3 separate regions of the Homo sapiens genome follow, and all the other regions are linked to region 1. The links are contacts of gene promoters, found by promoter capture Hi-C in blood cells and fetal thymus (Javierre and others, 2016). All regions are on one chromosome and are shown on one strand. Each heading gives the region's core, a stretch centred on a gene start or on the middle of the fragment in contact. The rest is flanking DNA. Distances are from core to core; before and after follow the strand shown. Region 1 holds the start of CCNB1 (cyclin B1). Region 2 overlaps RAD17 (RAD17 checkpoint clamp loader component). Region 3 overlaps AK6 (adenylate kinase 6).

What was found. The method cuts DNA at HindIII sites, captures the fragments that hold promoters and counts their contacts. A CHiCAGO score of 5 or more calls a contact.
Region 2: a contact is called between a fragment that was not itself captured here and the fragment with the promoter of CCNB1 in region 1, in 12 of 17 cell types (non-activated CD4 T cells, neutrophils, naive CD8 T cells and 9 more). The highest score is 10.6, in non-activated CD4 T cells.
Region 3: a fragment that was not itself captured here is called in contact with the fragment with the promoter of CCNB1 in region 1 in 17 of 17 cell types (neutrophils, total CD8 T cells, monocytes and 14 more); the score reaches 21.2 in neutrophils.

Annotation. Positions count from the first base shown.
Region 1 is chr5:69,164,805-69,169,445 of GRCh38, forward strand. It overlaps CCNB1 (cyclin B1), which reads left to right and starts at 2,346. Exons shown (of 9, transcript NM_031966.4): 1 at 2,346-2,479; 2 at 3,104-3,274; 3 at 3,369-3,539. The coding sequence starts at 2,459. RefSeq lists enhancers at 2,026-2,991, 2,372-2,601. The HindIII fragment of the contact is 10,262 bases long and covers 1-4,641 here.
Region 2 is chr5:69,394,854-69,399,494 of GRCh38, forward strand. RAD17 (RAD17 checkpoint clamp loader component) reads left to right here. Exons shown (of 19, transcript NM_133338.3): 16 at 1,544-1,693. Among named protein-coding and RNA genes, the nearest start is that of MARVELD2, 18 kb to the right of the region's middle. The HindIII fragment of the contact is 7,678 bases long and covers 1-4,641 here.
Region 3 is chr5:69,346,987-69,351,627 of GRCh38, forward strand. It overlaps AK6 (adenylate kinase 6), which reads right to left. Exons shown (of 5, transcript NM_016283.5): 5 at 3,998-4,641. It also overlaps the pseudogene NDUFB9P1. Among named protein-coding and RNA genes, the nearest start is that of CCDC125, 17 kb to the left of the region's middle. The HindIII fragment of the contact is 3,012 bases long and covers 395-3,406 here.

The DNA.
Region 1 (4,641 bases), core at 1,096-3,595:
TACTTGGGAGGCTGAGGCAGGAGAATGGCGTGAACCCGGGAGGCGGAGCTTGCAGTGAGCCTAGATGGCGCCACCGCACTCCAGCCTGGGCAACAAAGCAAGACTCCGTCTCAAAAAACAAACAAACAAACGAAAAACAAAAACAACTTACGTCCACTCAAAAATCTGCACACAGATGTTAGTAGCAGTTATATTCATACCAAAACTTGGACGCAATCAAGATGTCACTTAGTAGGTGACTGAATAAATAAACTAGTACATCCAGACAATGCAATATTATTCAGGGCTAAAATAAAATGAGATCCCAACCCATGAAAAAAACATGGAAGAACCTTAAATGCATATTTGAGTAAAAGAAACCATTCTGACCGCCAGGTGCAGTGGCTCACGCCTTCAATACCAGCACTTTGGGAGGTTGAGGCGGGTGGACATTATACGTCATTATATATTTGTCAAAACCCGTAGAAGACACAACACCTAGAGTGAACCTTAATGTAAACTATGGACTTTGGGTAATACTGTGGTGTCAATGTAGGTTAACAGATTATAATTAAAGTACAACTTTAATGTGGGGTGTCAATAGTGGGGAAGGCAGGTGAAATGCTCTATACTTTCTGCTAAGTTTTGCTGCGAACCTAAAACTGCTCTAAAAAATAAAGCATATAAAAGGAAAAATTTGGCCGGGCGTGGTGGCTCACGCCTGTAATCGCAGCACTTTGGGAGGCCGAGGCGGGCGGATCACCAAGTCAGGAGATCGAGACCATCCTGGCTAACATGGTGAAACCCCGTCTCTACCAAAAATACAAAAAATTAGCCGGCCGTTGTGGCGGGCGCCTGCCGTCCCAGCTACTCGGGAGGCTGAGGCAGGAGAATGGAGTGAACCCTGGAGGTGGAGGTTGCAGTGAGTCGAGATCGCACCACTGCACTCCAGCCTGGGCGACAGATCGAGACTCCGTCTCAAAAAAAAGTAAAAAAAAAAATTTTTAAACTGGAACACAGAGGATAAGTAATCCTGCTTCGCCCCTTGCCTCTCGCCCCTGCATGGGGCGAGGAAGGATTGATCAAACCCAGAAAGACTGAGTGAGAATGGATGTTGAACACAGAACTGAAGGATGAATGGGAGTTACCTGAATAGAACCCAGGGGCTTGAATGCAAGAAGAGGCGGGCATTCCAGGCAGAGGAGAGCAAGGGTAAGGGCCCCACGGGAGGCATTCGAGTAGGAGGGTGAACTATGATGACAGAAGACTCAATAACGATCCAAAGAAACCAAATGATTGGGCGCCTTCTTTCGGATCCGTGACTTCCAGCGCCAGGAGTCTCTATTGGCTCTTATACCGTTGCTCTATGGGATAGCAATGTTTTTGTCCTTCAGCCTCCCCTCCAATTGCTGAGCTGCTGGTGTGTTTTGAGGAGTAGAAGGCAAAAAGAACCCTCTTGTTTTTCTTTGGATCTAGAGAGAATCTGAGCAAATGACAAAGCAAATGGGGTAAAATGTCTTTTTGTTTAGTTTTTCCTGATTTTCCCATGAGAGGCAAATACATGTTAAGGATAGTTGAATCTGAGTAAAGGGCATAGAAATATTCCTTACAAGATTTTTGTTGGCAACTGGTCTAAGTATGAAATTATTTCCAAATAGAAAGCTAAAACAAACAAAACAATTGGCCTTGGGAAACTGGACAATCTTGAAGTAATCAAGTAATATTGTTAAGGGACAATCAGTGTTGTGAAAACAACACGGATACACCCCCTCCCTCCCCCTCAAAAAAAAAAACCCTAAATTCAGTTCCCCCGTTGCTAATGTGTGACCCTGGCAAAGTCATCTAAGTCGCTGAGCTTCAGTTCCTCCAACCCAGAGAGTTGTTGCAACGATCAAATGAAAGAATGTCTATTAAAGCCTTTCATGAACTATATTATTGCTGCTACCGTAGAAATGGAAAGTGTGCAACACTAGATCCAAAACTACTTTTGACACTTCTGAGACTGTGGCCGCGCCTCTGTCACCTTCCAAAGGCCACTAGGCCTTTCCTGAGCTGGCATTGGCAACGCACACTCTTGCCCGGCTAACCTTTCCAGGTGGGCGGCGCACTGGCTTCACTGCTCTCCAGGTGGCCGCTGCAGCTGCCCGAGAGCGCAGGCGCAGAGGCAGACCACGTGAGAGCCTGGCCAGGCCTTCCGGCCTAGCCTCACTGTGGCCCCGCCCCTCTCGAACGCCTTCGCGCGATCGCCCTGGAAACGCATTCTCTGCGACCGGCAGCCGCCAATGGGAAGGGAGTGAGTGCCACGAACAGGCCAATAAGGAGGGAGCAGTGCGGGGTTTAAATCTGAGGCTAGGCTGGCTCTTCTCGGCGTGCTGCGGCGGAACGGCTGTTGGTTTCTGCTGGGTGTAGGTCCTTGGCTGGTCGGGCCTCCGGTGTTCTGCTTCTCCCCGCTGAGCTGCTGCCTGGTGAAGAGGAAGCCATGGCGCTCCGAGTCACCAGGGTGAGCCGCTTCGGACTGCGAACTAACGCGGCCTTCTTAGCTGCTGCCTGCTCTCCCTGCCTCGCCTGCGGGAGCCTCCCGAGCGGGAGAGGGCCGCAGGAGCGATTTGGGGAGGAAGGTGGGAGGGGACTCACCAAGAGAGCGCCGAGGTGGGCCCAGGCCTGGTGAGAGAGTGTGGGGGACGATGGATGGAGGGAGGAAGGTGAGAAAGAGAACTGGACGGATATTGGATAAATGTTTTGGGGAGGTGGAGAGTCGACTGGGAACCTTTTGAAAAAGTGATAGAGGGTCCCTGAGTGGGCCCGCCAGCAACTCTGTAACCCCCTTCCCAGAGAGAAGGTGTCTGCAATTGGAGGCTTTTTCGGTTTCCTTTCAAATGTAAATTCTCGGTATTTTAGGGCTGGCCAGGACTAATCAGGGAATCCCTCAATTGGTAAATGTAGAGGTCGGCGGAAACTGACTTGTCACGGCCGCAGAGTAGACTCTGGGACCCATGTTTTCCCTCGGAACCCATTTTTAGTCGGCTTTCTTTCTGGGAACTTCTCCTTGTGCCCCACCTTAATTAACCCTTGACTTACTCGAGCCTTCGTGGATCAGCTCTTAAAGTGGTCTTGCTTCTTTCAGAACTCGAAAATTAATGCTGAAAATAAGGCGAAGATCAACATGGCAGGCGCAAAGCGCGTTCCTACGGCCCCTGCTGCAACCTCCAAGCCCGGACTGAGGCCAAGAACAGCTCTTGGGGACATTGGTAACAAAGTCAGTGAACAACTGCAGGCCAAAATGCCTATGAAGAAGGTAACTCTCTTCCTGACCTAACTTCTGTAAGAGCCCGCCTTCCAACTGTGGCCTTTGATGCAGAAACATTTCATTCTCTCTGTTTCATCTACAGGAAGCAAAACCTTCAGCTACTGGAAAAGTCATTGATAAAAAACTACCAAAACCTCTTGAAAAGGTACCTATGCTGGTGCCAGTGCCAGTGTCTGAGCCAGTGCCAGAGCCAGAACCTGAGCCAGAACCTGAGCCTGTTAAAGAAGAAAAACTTTCGCCTGAGCCTATTTTGGTAAACTTATTCTTACCATTGTAGAGTCTGTTGATTATTTCTTGTCCCTTATTTCACTGATACATGCAAGAGCATTCAAATGAATAGTAATATTAATACCATTTATTGAGTGCTTAGCATGAGGCAAGCTCTGCCTAACATTTTACATGCATTAACTCACATAATCTTTACACGTACTCTCTGAGGTATTGTCACCTCTACTATTTAAATCATGGCTTTAGAGAGGTTATGTCAGGGTCACACAGGTAAGTGGCCCATATGGGATTCAAGCTCAGGCTGTCTGGCTTCAGAATCTATGCTTTTAATTGTCAACTGTCTTATATTCCTTCGTTAATGATATTAAGTAGTAGCTGTCTGAGCCAAAGGCTTTGTTATCCAACTACAAGCCATCTCTGCAGAATTTATTGGCGTAAACATAGAATGTTCTCTTGAATTTTTTTACTGCTGCATATGGCTACTAAATAATAAGCCTGTAACATTGGAATATGCAAAGGAGTAAAACAGGAAGAAGGCAACTTTTCAGGGAGTGGTTAAGAAGATGAATTAACACTTAGCCTCAAAAATAATAACTTTTTATTAAATATAAGGTATGTAAATGTATTCTATGATAGACCTACCTGTGAAGGAAAGGTAGGTCATGTAGAGGAGGCTGCTTTGATGAAATTGCAATGAACTGTATTCTGAAGCTCTGTTTTTTTAAACTTAGTTAAAACCAGTTGGGAAAATTATCTGAAAAAAACTTGTTGAGACAGAGTCTGGCTCTGTTGCCCAGGCTGGAGTGCAGTGGCGTGATCTTGGCTCACTGCAACCTCTGCCTCCCAGGTTCAAGCAATTTTCCTGCCTCAGCCTCCCTAGTAGCTGGGATTACAGACGCACGCCACCACGCCCAGCTAATTTTCATATTTTTAGTATAGATGGGGTTTCACCATGTTAGTGTACTCCTGACCTCATGATCCGCCCGCCTCGGCCTCCGAAAGTGCTGGGATTACAGGCGTTAGCCACGGCGCCCAGCCAGTTCAGCTTCTTATATCTAAGGATAAGAGATTGAAAGCTATTGCTTTAGTGTTGAATTTCTGGGCATAGCACATGAAATATGTAGCCA
Region 2 (4,641 bases), core at 1,394-3,893, 230 kb after region 1:
AGTATGAGACCAGCTGGGGCAATGTGATGAAACCCCATCTCTACAAAAAAATACCAAGAAAATTGTTTGGGTGTAGTGGTCCCAGCTACTCAGGAGGCTGAGGTGGGAGGATGGCTTGAGCCTGGGAGGCAGAGGTTGCAGTGAGCTGAGATCACACCACTGCACTCCAGCCTGGGCAATAGAGCTGGACCTTGTCTCAAAAAATTAAAAAATTGAAATAGCAGTAATAAGTAAAATTAGGAAAGACACAGAAAAACCATTTATGTTATAGAGCTTCATTACTCAGCAGTTGAATTTGCTTAACTTTTAAAATAATTGTTTCTTTCTTATTTTGAAATTTTCCATCCTATAAATAAATTAAAAGGATAGTACAATGAGCCAGGAGTGGTGGTTCCTGCCAGTAATTCTGCACTTTGGGAGTCCAAGGCAGGAAGATCACTTGAGGCCAGAAGTTTGAGAACAGCCTGGGAAACACAGCGAGACCCCATCTCTAGAAGAGATTTTAAAAATTAGCTGGGTATGGTGGCATGCACCTGTAGTCGTAGCTACTTGGGAGGCTGTGGTGGGAGAATCACTTGAGCCCAGGAGTTTGAGGTGGTAGTGAGCTGTGATCGTGCCACCACATTCCAGGCTGGGCAACAGACTGAGACCCTATTTTAAATAATAATACAAAATAACGAAAAGAGTATAATTGACTTGTTTGTGACACCAAGGATAAATGCTTGAGGTAATGGATACCCCATTTAACTTGAGGTAATTATTACACATTGTATGCTGGTATCAAAATGACCCCTGTACCTCATAAATATATACAGCTACTAAGTACCCACACAAATTAAAAATTAAAAAAAAATGATAGTACAATGAATAGCTGCATATCCTTAACTTTTGTTTAGCAGTTTGCATATTTTGCCACTTTTTCTTAATCTCTCTATATATTTACGTATTTGTTTCTGGCTGAATAATTGGAAAGTATTAGTAATTGCGAACATCGTGACACTTAAGCAGCATAAGGACATTGTTCTATTACAACTACCATAGCATTATCATACCCCATTGAAACTAAAATATAACTAGTTGATATAACTGGCCTCTCAAAGTGCTGGGATTACAGGCGTGAGCCACTGCGCCCAGCTGCATAGTCATATTTTAGTTTCAATTATATTTTAGTTATATTAACTAATTAGTTACATTAACTAATTAGTTATATAATTAAGTTAACTTTCCAGAGAAACTTCACACTAATCTAGCAATATATTGTCCCTATTCAGATTTCCTCATTTGCCTCAAAAATGTATTCAAAGTTGTTTCCTCCACCCCTGTCCAAGATCCAGTCAGGGTTTACACATTTAATTTGATGGCTATGTCCCAGTGGAATTTGCTTTAGATAAGTTTATAGTGCTGTTATTTATAGGGCTGTAGTGATGTTGAAGAAAGTGAACACATAGAAACTAAATACGGTTAGTATTTTTGTATATATCAGGAATACCAGTAATGCTCTTTTATAAATCTATTTTCTTTCACATCTTGTCTCATTTGTTAGACACGCTCTTTACTCAGGGAATATAGCACATCTATAGCTACGAGAGGTGTGATGCATTCCAACAAAGCCCGAGGATATGCTCATTGCCAAGGAGGAGGATCAAGTTTTCGACCCTTGCACAAACCTCAGTGGTTTCTAATAAATAAAAAGGTAAAAAAAAAAAAAAAAATTCTGTACTTTCAATATGTGAACTTTATGGTACGTGAATTATAACTCAAAGCAGTTATTTTCTTTAAAACATAACAAAGGAAAAAATATTTCATTTTTAATAAAATAGTTGCTAAGGTCCACAATTAGATTCTGAGTTTTTATAAAACATAAAAAGGTGACTCTTAAATGCTTGTACAATTTTTTAAGGGAAAAAAGACCATCACAATTTGAAAATATTAGTTCAGTTTTATTGGAATCAAAGCGTAGTTACATTTTATTTTATTTTTTATTTTTTTATTTTTTGAGACGGAGTTTCGCTCTTTTTGCCCAGGCTGGAATGCAATGGCATGATCTCGGCTCACTGCAACCTCCGCCTCCCGGGTTCAAGCAGTTCTCCTGCCTCAGCCTCCCAGGTAGCTGGGATTACAGGCGCCAGCCACCACGCCTGGCTAATTTTTTGTATTTTTAGTAGAGACAGGGTTTCACCATGTTGGCCAGGTTGGTCTCGATCTTTGGACCTCATGATCCTCTTGCCTTGGCCTCTCAAAGTGCTGGGATTACAAATGTGAGACACCATGCTCGGCCATATTTTATTTTTTATTTTTTATTTTTATTCAGACAGAGTCGTTCTCTTGCCTAGGCTGGAGTGCAGTGGTGCCATCTCTGCTCACTGCAACCTCTACCTCCTAGGTTCAAGCAATTCTCCCACCTCAGCCTCCTGAGTAGCTGGGATTACAGGCATCTACCTCCATGCCCAGCTAATTTTTGTATTTTTAGTAGAGATGGGGTTTTGCCATGTTGGCCAGGCTGTTCTTGAACTCCTGACCTTAAGTGATCTGCCCGCCTTGGCCTCTCAAAGTGCTGGGATTACAGGCATGAGCCACTGTGCCCAGCTGCATAGTTATATTTCAGTTTCAATTAAAAACAAACTTTAGGGCCAGGCATGGTGGCTCACACCTGTAATCCCAGCACTGTGGAAGGCCAAAACAAGAGGATCACTTGAGCCCAGGAGTTTGAGACCAGCCTGGTCAACATAGTGAGATCCCATATCTACAAGAAAAAGAAAAAAATTGTAAATAAATAAACCCTAGTTCAACCTGAGAATGCTGATTGGAAAATAGAAATCCCTAGTATATAAAATTTCAGTTAGGCAGGAGGAATAAGTTTTTTTTGTTTTTGGTTTTTGAGACGGAGCCTCGCTGGCCAGGAGGAATAAGTTTTAAGTTCAAGAGATATGTTGTATAACATGGTGACTATTAACAACAATGTGTCATGTATTTGAAAATCATGGCCGGGCATGGTGGCTCACGCCTGTAATCCCAGCACTTTGGGAGGCTGAGGCGGGCAGATCACGAGGTCAGGAGATGGAGACCATCCTGGCTAACACGATGAAACCCTGTCTGTACTAAAAATAAAAAAACTTAGCCGGGTGTGGCGGCGTGCGCCTGTAGTCCCAACTACTCTGGAGGCTGAGGCAGGAGAATGGCGTGAACCCAGGAGGCGGAGCTTGCAGTGAGCTGACATGGCGCCACTGCACTCCAGCCTGAGAGACAGAGCGAGACTCCATCTAAAAAAAAAAAAAGAAAATCACTAAAACGGTAGATTTTAAGTGTTCTCACCACACACAAAAAATATATGTATGTAAGGTAATGCATATGTTAATTGGCTCAATTTAGCCATTCTACCATATATACATATTTCAGAACATCATGTTGTATACCTATAAATACATACAGAGCTTATTTGTCAATTTAAATTAATCAAAGAAAGGAGAAGAAATCTTGGCCTTGCCTCTATATGGACAAGGTATTCACCTAATGTGTTCTTACTCTCCACAGCTAAAAATGTAGATGATTGAATTATTTAGAGGTAAAAAATGGGAGGCACACAAGTTGAAAACAAAATACACAACAGTTTTCAAAATGAATTGCCAATCTTTAAAAATCAGACTAATGATTAAAAGTCAGATATGAATTTCGGCTGGGCGCTGTGACTCACACCTGTAATCCCAGCACTTTTGGGAGGCTGAGGCGGGCAGAACACAAGGTCAGGAGTTCGAGACCAGCCTGACTAACATGGTGAAACCCCATCGCTACTAAAAATACAAAAGTTTGCCAGGTGTGGTGGTGCGCTCCTGTAATCCCAGCTACTCAGGAGGCCGAAGCAGGAGAATCGCGTGAACCCGGGAGGCAGAAGTTGCAGTGAGCCGAGATCATGCCACTGCACTCCAGCCTAGGCGACAGAAAAAGACTCTGTCTCAGAAAGAAAAAAAAAAAGTTAGATATGAATTTCTAGCTTCAGAATTTCTGGAATCTCCTGGTTAAAAAAAAAAAAAAAAAAAAGAGGCCAGGTGCAGTGGCTCACACCTGTAATCCGAGCACTTTGGAAAGCTGAGGTGGAAGGATCACTAGAGCCCAGGAGTTTGAGACCTGCCTGGGCAATATGGTGAAACCCCATCTGTATAAAAAAAAAAATAATAAAAAAATTAGCTGGGTGTGGTGGCAAACACCAGGAATTTGAGACCAGCAATATAGTGAGATCCCATATCTACAGGAAAAAGGAAAAATTTTTTTTGTTTTTCCTACCTAGTCCCAGCTACTTGGGAGGCTGAATTGGGAGGATTGCATAAGCCTGGGAGGCAGAGTTTGCAGTGAACAATGATTGTGCCACTGCACTCCAGCCTGGGCAACAGAGTGAGACCCCCATCTCTCAAAAAAATGAAAGTGAAGTATAACACTGGCTCATATTTCTGCGTAGCAACAATCACCTCGCCATGTAGCATCTGCCCCTTTGAGATGAGAGTAGTAGGCACCACTGTCCCCAGCTGGTTCATTCACTTATATTGCCTGCTTGACTTCTGTAATATCTGAATTCGTGACCCCTGGACTGGGTCGTCTCTGAGATGTCTTCCAGTTCTAAAATCATACAGCTGAAAATTACCCTATAAT
Region 3 (4,641 bases), core at 651-3,150, 180 kb after region 1:
GTGCGATCTCAGCTCACTGCAACCTCGAGTTCCTGGGTGTAAGCGCTTCTCCCGCTTCAGTCTCCTGAGTAGCTGGGATTACAGGCACATGCCACCACACTCAGCTAATTTTGTTGGTTTTTCTTTTTTCTTTTCTTTTCTTTTTTTTGTGATGCAGCCTCATCTGTTGCCCACGTTGTAGTGCAGTGGCATGAACCACTGGCCTAATTTTTGTATCTTTTGTACAGGCAGGGTTTCACTAGCTACTTGGGAGGCTGAAGTCAGAGGATCACTTGAGCCCAGGAGGTCGAGGCTGCAGTGAGCTATGATGGTGCCACAGCATTCCAGCCTGGGTGACATGGCAAGAGCCTGTCTCAAAAAAAAAAAAGAAAAAAAATTAGTCTACTAAATGTTAAGCTTGCGTACAATTTGTCTTTGGGAATTTACTCAACAGATAAACTTGCTCATATGCATAACGCATATGCATTAGGGAACACAACTTAGTGAGTGAAAGCCTGCCTAAGATAGAACACTGAAGCTAATACTTTTTAGCTATTATCTTGGATAAGCCACTTAACTCTTCTGTGCCTTGGTTCCTGTAATGGAAATAATAATAACATCTACCTCAGAGAGTGGTCATGTGGATAAAGAATTCACTTTTGAAATGTGTTTAGAAGTTTATGTCATAGTAATATATTTACTCTTTATTATTCTTGCATCATTGTAATAGTAAAAAGCTGGAAACAGCCTAAATGTCCATTAGTGAGAGGACTGATTAAATCAAACTTGGCATGTCTTTTTTTTTGAGACAAGTTCTCACTCTGTCCGCCCAGGATGGAGTGCAGTGGCTCAATCACAGCTCACTGCAGCCTCGACCTCCTCAGGCTCAGGTGATCCTCCTGCGTCAGCCTCCTGAGTAGCTGGGACTATAGGTGCATGCCACCACTCTGGGCTATTATTTTATTTTTATTTATTTATTCATTTTTTTGGAGACAGTGTCTCACTCTGTTGCCCAGGCTGGAATGCAGTGGCACAATCTGAGCTCACTCCAACCTCCGCTGCCTGAGTTAAAGCGATTCTCCTGCCTCGGCCTCCGGAGTAGCTGGGATTACAGGCATGCACCACCATGCCTGGCTAGTTTTTGTATTTTTGGTAGAGACGAGATTTCACCATGTTGGCCAGGCTGGTCTCGAACTCCTAATCTCAAGTGATCCACCTGCCTTGGCCTCCTAAAGTGCTGGGATTACAGGCATGAGCCACTATGCCCAGCCTCTTTTTTCTTTTTTTTAAATAGAGACGAGGTCTCACTATGTTGCCCAGGCTGGTCTCGAACTTCTGAGCTCAAGTGATCCTCCCACCTAGGCCTCCCAAAGTGCTGAGATTACAGGAGTGAGCCACCATGCCTGACCTATTTTTTTTTTTTTTGCGACAGAGTGTGGCCCAGCCTGGAGTGCAGAGGCACTATCTCGGCTCACTGCAAGCTCTGCCTCCCGGGTTCATGCCATTCTCCTGCCTCAGCCTCCCGAGTAGCTGGGACTACAGGTGCCTGCCATCACGCCTGGCTAATTTTTTGTATTTTTAGTAGAGACGGGGTTTCACCGTGTTAGCCAGGATGGTCTCAATCTCCTGACTTCGTGATCTGCCTGCCTCGACCTCCCAAAGTGCTGGGATTACAGGCGTGAGCCTCCGCGCCCGGCCTGGCCTATTTACTTAATTAATTAATTTATTTATTTATTTTTAGGAACAGTGTTTCACCATGTCGGCCAGGTTGGTCTCAAACTCCTGGGCTTAAGTCATCCGCCCGCCTTGGCCTCCCAAAGTCCTAGGATTACAAGTGTGAGCCACAGTGCCTGGGTACTTGGCATATCATTAATGGCTTTTTTTTTTTTTTTTTTTTTTTGAGATGGGAGTTTCACTCTTATTGCCCAGGATGGAGTGCAATGGTGCAATCTCGGCTCATTGCAACCTCCACCTCCTCGGTTCAAGCGATTCTCCTGCCTCAGCCTCTCAAGTAGCTGAGATTACAGGCACCCACCACCACGCCCGGCTAATTTTTGTATTTTAGTAGAAACAAGGATTCACCATGTTGGTTAGGCTGGTCTCAAACTCCTGACCTCAGGTGATCCACCCACCTCGGCCTCCCAAAGTGTTGGGATTACAGGCATGAGCCACTGGGCCTAGCCTCATTAATGCCATTTTATGCAAACATTAAAAAGATGAGGGATCCAAAGAAGATAAACCAATAGGCACATGAAAAGATGCTCATCATAAATCATTAGAGAAATGTAAATCAAAACCAAAATGTGATATACTACTCACCCACTAGTATAGTTATAATAAAAAAGATGGGAGTTGCCAGGCAAGGTGGCTCACGCCTGCAATCCCAGCACTTTGGGAGGCTGAGGCGGGCAGATTACCTGAGGTTGGGAGTTCGAGGGAGAAACTCTGTCTTTACTAAAAATACAAAATCAGCCGGGTATGGTGGTGCATGCCTGTAATCCCAGCTACTTGGGAGATTGAGGCAAGAGAATCGCTTGAACCTGGGAGGTGGAGGTTGAACCCTTGAACCTGCAGTGAGCTGAGATCACGCCATTGCACTCCAGCCTGGGCAACAAGAGTGAGACTGCCTCAAAAAAAAAAAAAAAAAAAAAAAAAAAAAGGCCAGGCGCGGTGGCTCACGCCTCTAATCCCAGCACTCTGGGAGGCCAAGGTGGGCAGATCACGAGGTCAGGAGATCGAGACCATCCTGCCTGACATGGTGAAACCCCGTCTCTACTAAAAATACAAAAATTAGCCGGGCGTGGTGGCAGGCGCCTGTAGTCCCAGCTACTTGGGAGACTGAGACAGGAGAATGGCGTGAACTCGGGAGGTGGAGCTTGCAGTGAGCCGAGATTGCACCACTGCACTCCAGCCTGGGCGACAGAGCAAGACTCCGTCTCAAAAAAAAAAAAAGATGGGATCAAGCAGTCATGGTGTTCTCGATGCTGGAGGGCCTACTTGACCTATCACCAGAAGGTGTTGCTGCTTTGTAACCAGGCGCTGTACCACCTCAAGCCATGGTGCATCCAGAGATAAATAATGGTATATTTTGCCTGTTTGATGAGAGCCTGGTTTGAAGAGCATAGGAAAAAAAAAAAGGGTATGATGGAGGCTACCCCACTGCTGAGGGAGGCAGAGGAATTCTGGTATCGTCAGCATTCACAGCCATTCTCTTCCCTGACTCTCTGGGGGTACTTCCTATGAGAGATACGAGTGATATGCTACAAGTCTCTGGAGTGGTGCTTAGATGACTGGAATCCTTCTGAGAAGGCAATGTACCCTGATTACTTAGCCAAGAGAGAGCAGTGGAAGAAACTGCTGAGGCAAAGCCAGGAGTGAGAGGTTAAGCAGCTGCAGGAGGAAATCCCAACTGGTGGTCTAGGACTGAAGCTTTGCCCCCTGTGGTGGTATATTGTGACCAGACCCCGGGAGTGGCCCATGTAGAGAGACAGACCTCACCCTGTCATGCCTGCAAGTGAAGTAAGTTACAGAACATACACACACACTTAGCCTAATAAAAATCGCTGAAATGGTAAAAATCAACAAATATAGACCGTAACAAGTGTTAGCAAGAATGTGAAGAAACTGAGTCCCTAATACATTGATGGTGGGAACATAAAATGCTGCAACCACTTTGGAAACCAGTTTGGCATTTCCTCAAAAAGTTAAACATGGTTGCCCTATGACCCAGCAATTCCCCTCCCAGGTATATGCCTAAGAAAACTGAAAACATACATCCACATGGAATCTTGTACATGAATGCTCATAGTATGCTACTATTATGTATTCAACTTCACAATACCCAAAGTGGATACAACCCAATTGTGCAAGTGATGGAAACATAAGCAAAATGTGGTAAATCCATATAATGGAATATTATTCAACCATAAAAAGGAATGAGATATTGGTACATGCTATAACTTAGATGAACCTTGAAAACATTATGCTAAGTGAAAGAAACTGGACACAAAAGGCCACATACTGTATAATCCCATTTATATGAAATATCCAGAATATGCAAATCCATAGAGACAGAAAGTAGACTAGTGACTGCAAGGGGATGAGGAGGAAAGAATAGAGAGTGACTGCTAAAGGGTATAGGAGTTCCCTTTATCATCACTGCTTCCTCCACAGTGGTGACAGTTACATAACCTTGTTAATAAGCTAAAAACCAACGGATTATAAATTTTATTTATGTTTATTTTTAGAGTCTAAGGTCTCACTATGTTGCCCAGGCTGGTCTTGAACTCCTGCCTCAAGCGATTCTCCACCTCAGCCTCCCCATTTGCTGGGATTACAGGCATAAGCCACCATACCCGGTTCTGATTATACACTTCAAAATGGTAAATTTTATTGTATGATATGTATATCTATCTCAACTAAAAAAAAGAACAGGGAGGTCTGTACTGAGATGATATAATCTTCAAATATAGTAAGTGAAAAAAGAAAGGTACAGAATAGTGTGCATAATATACTGTTATATTCTTTAAAAAATGTACACATGTACATATACACTGTGCAGGCATAAAACCTCTAAAAAGACATATAGGAAACCAGTAACATTATTTCCTAAAGGGAAGGAACCTGGGGTGCCTGGGGATAGGGTGGTCTGGAAGGGAGACC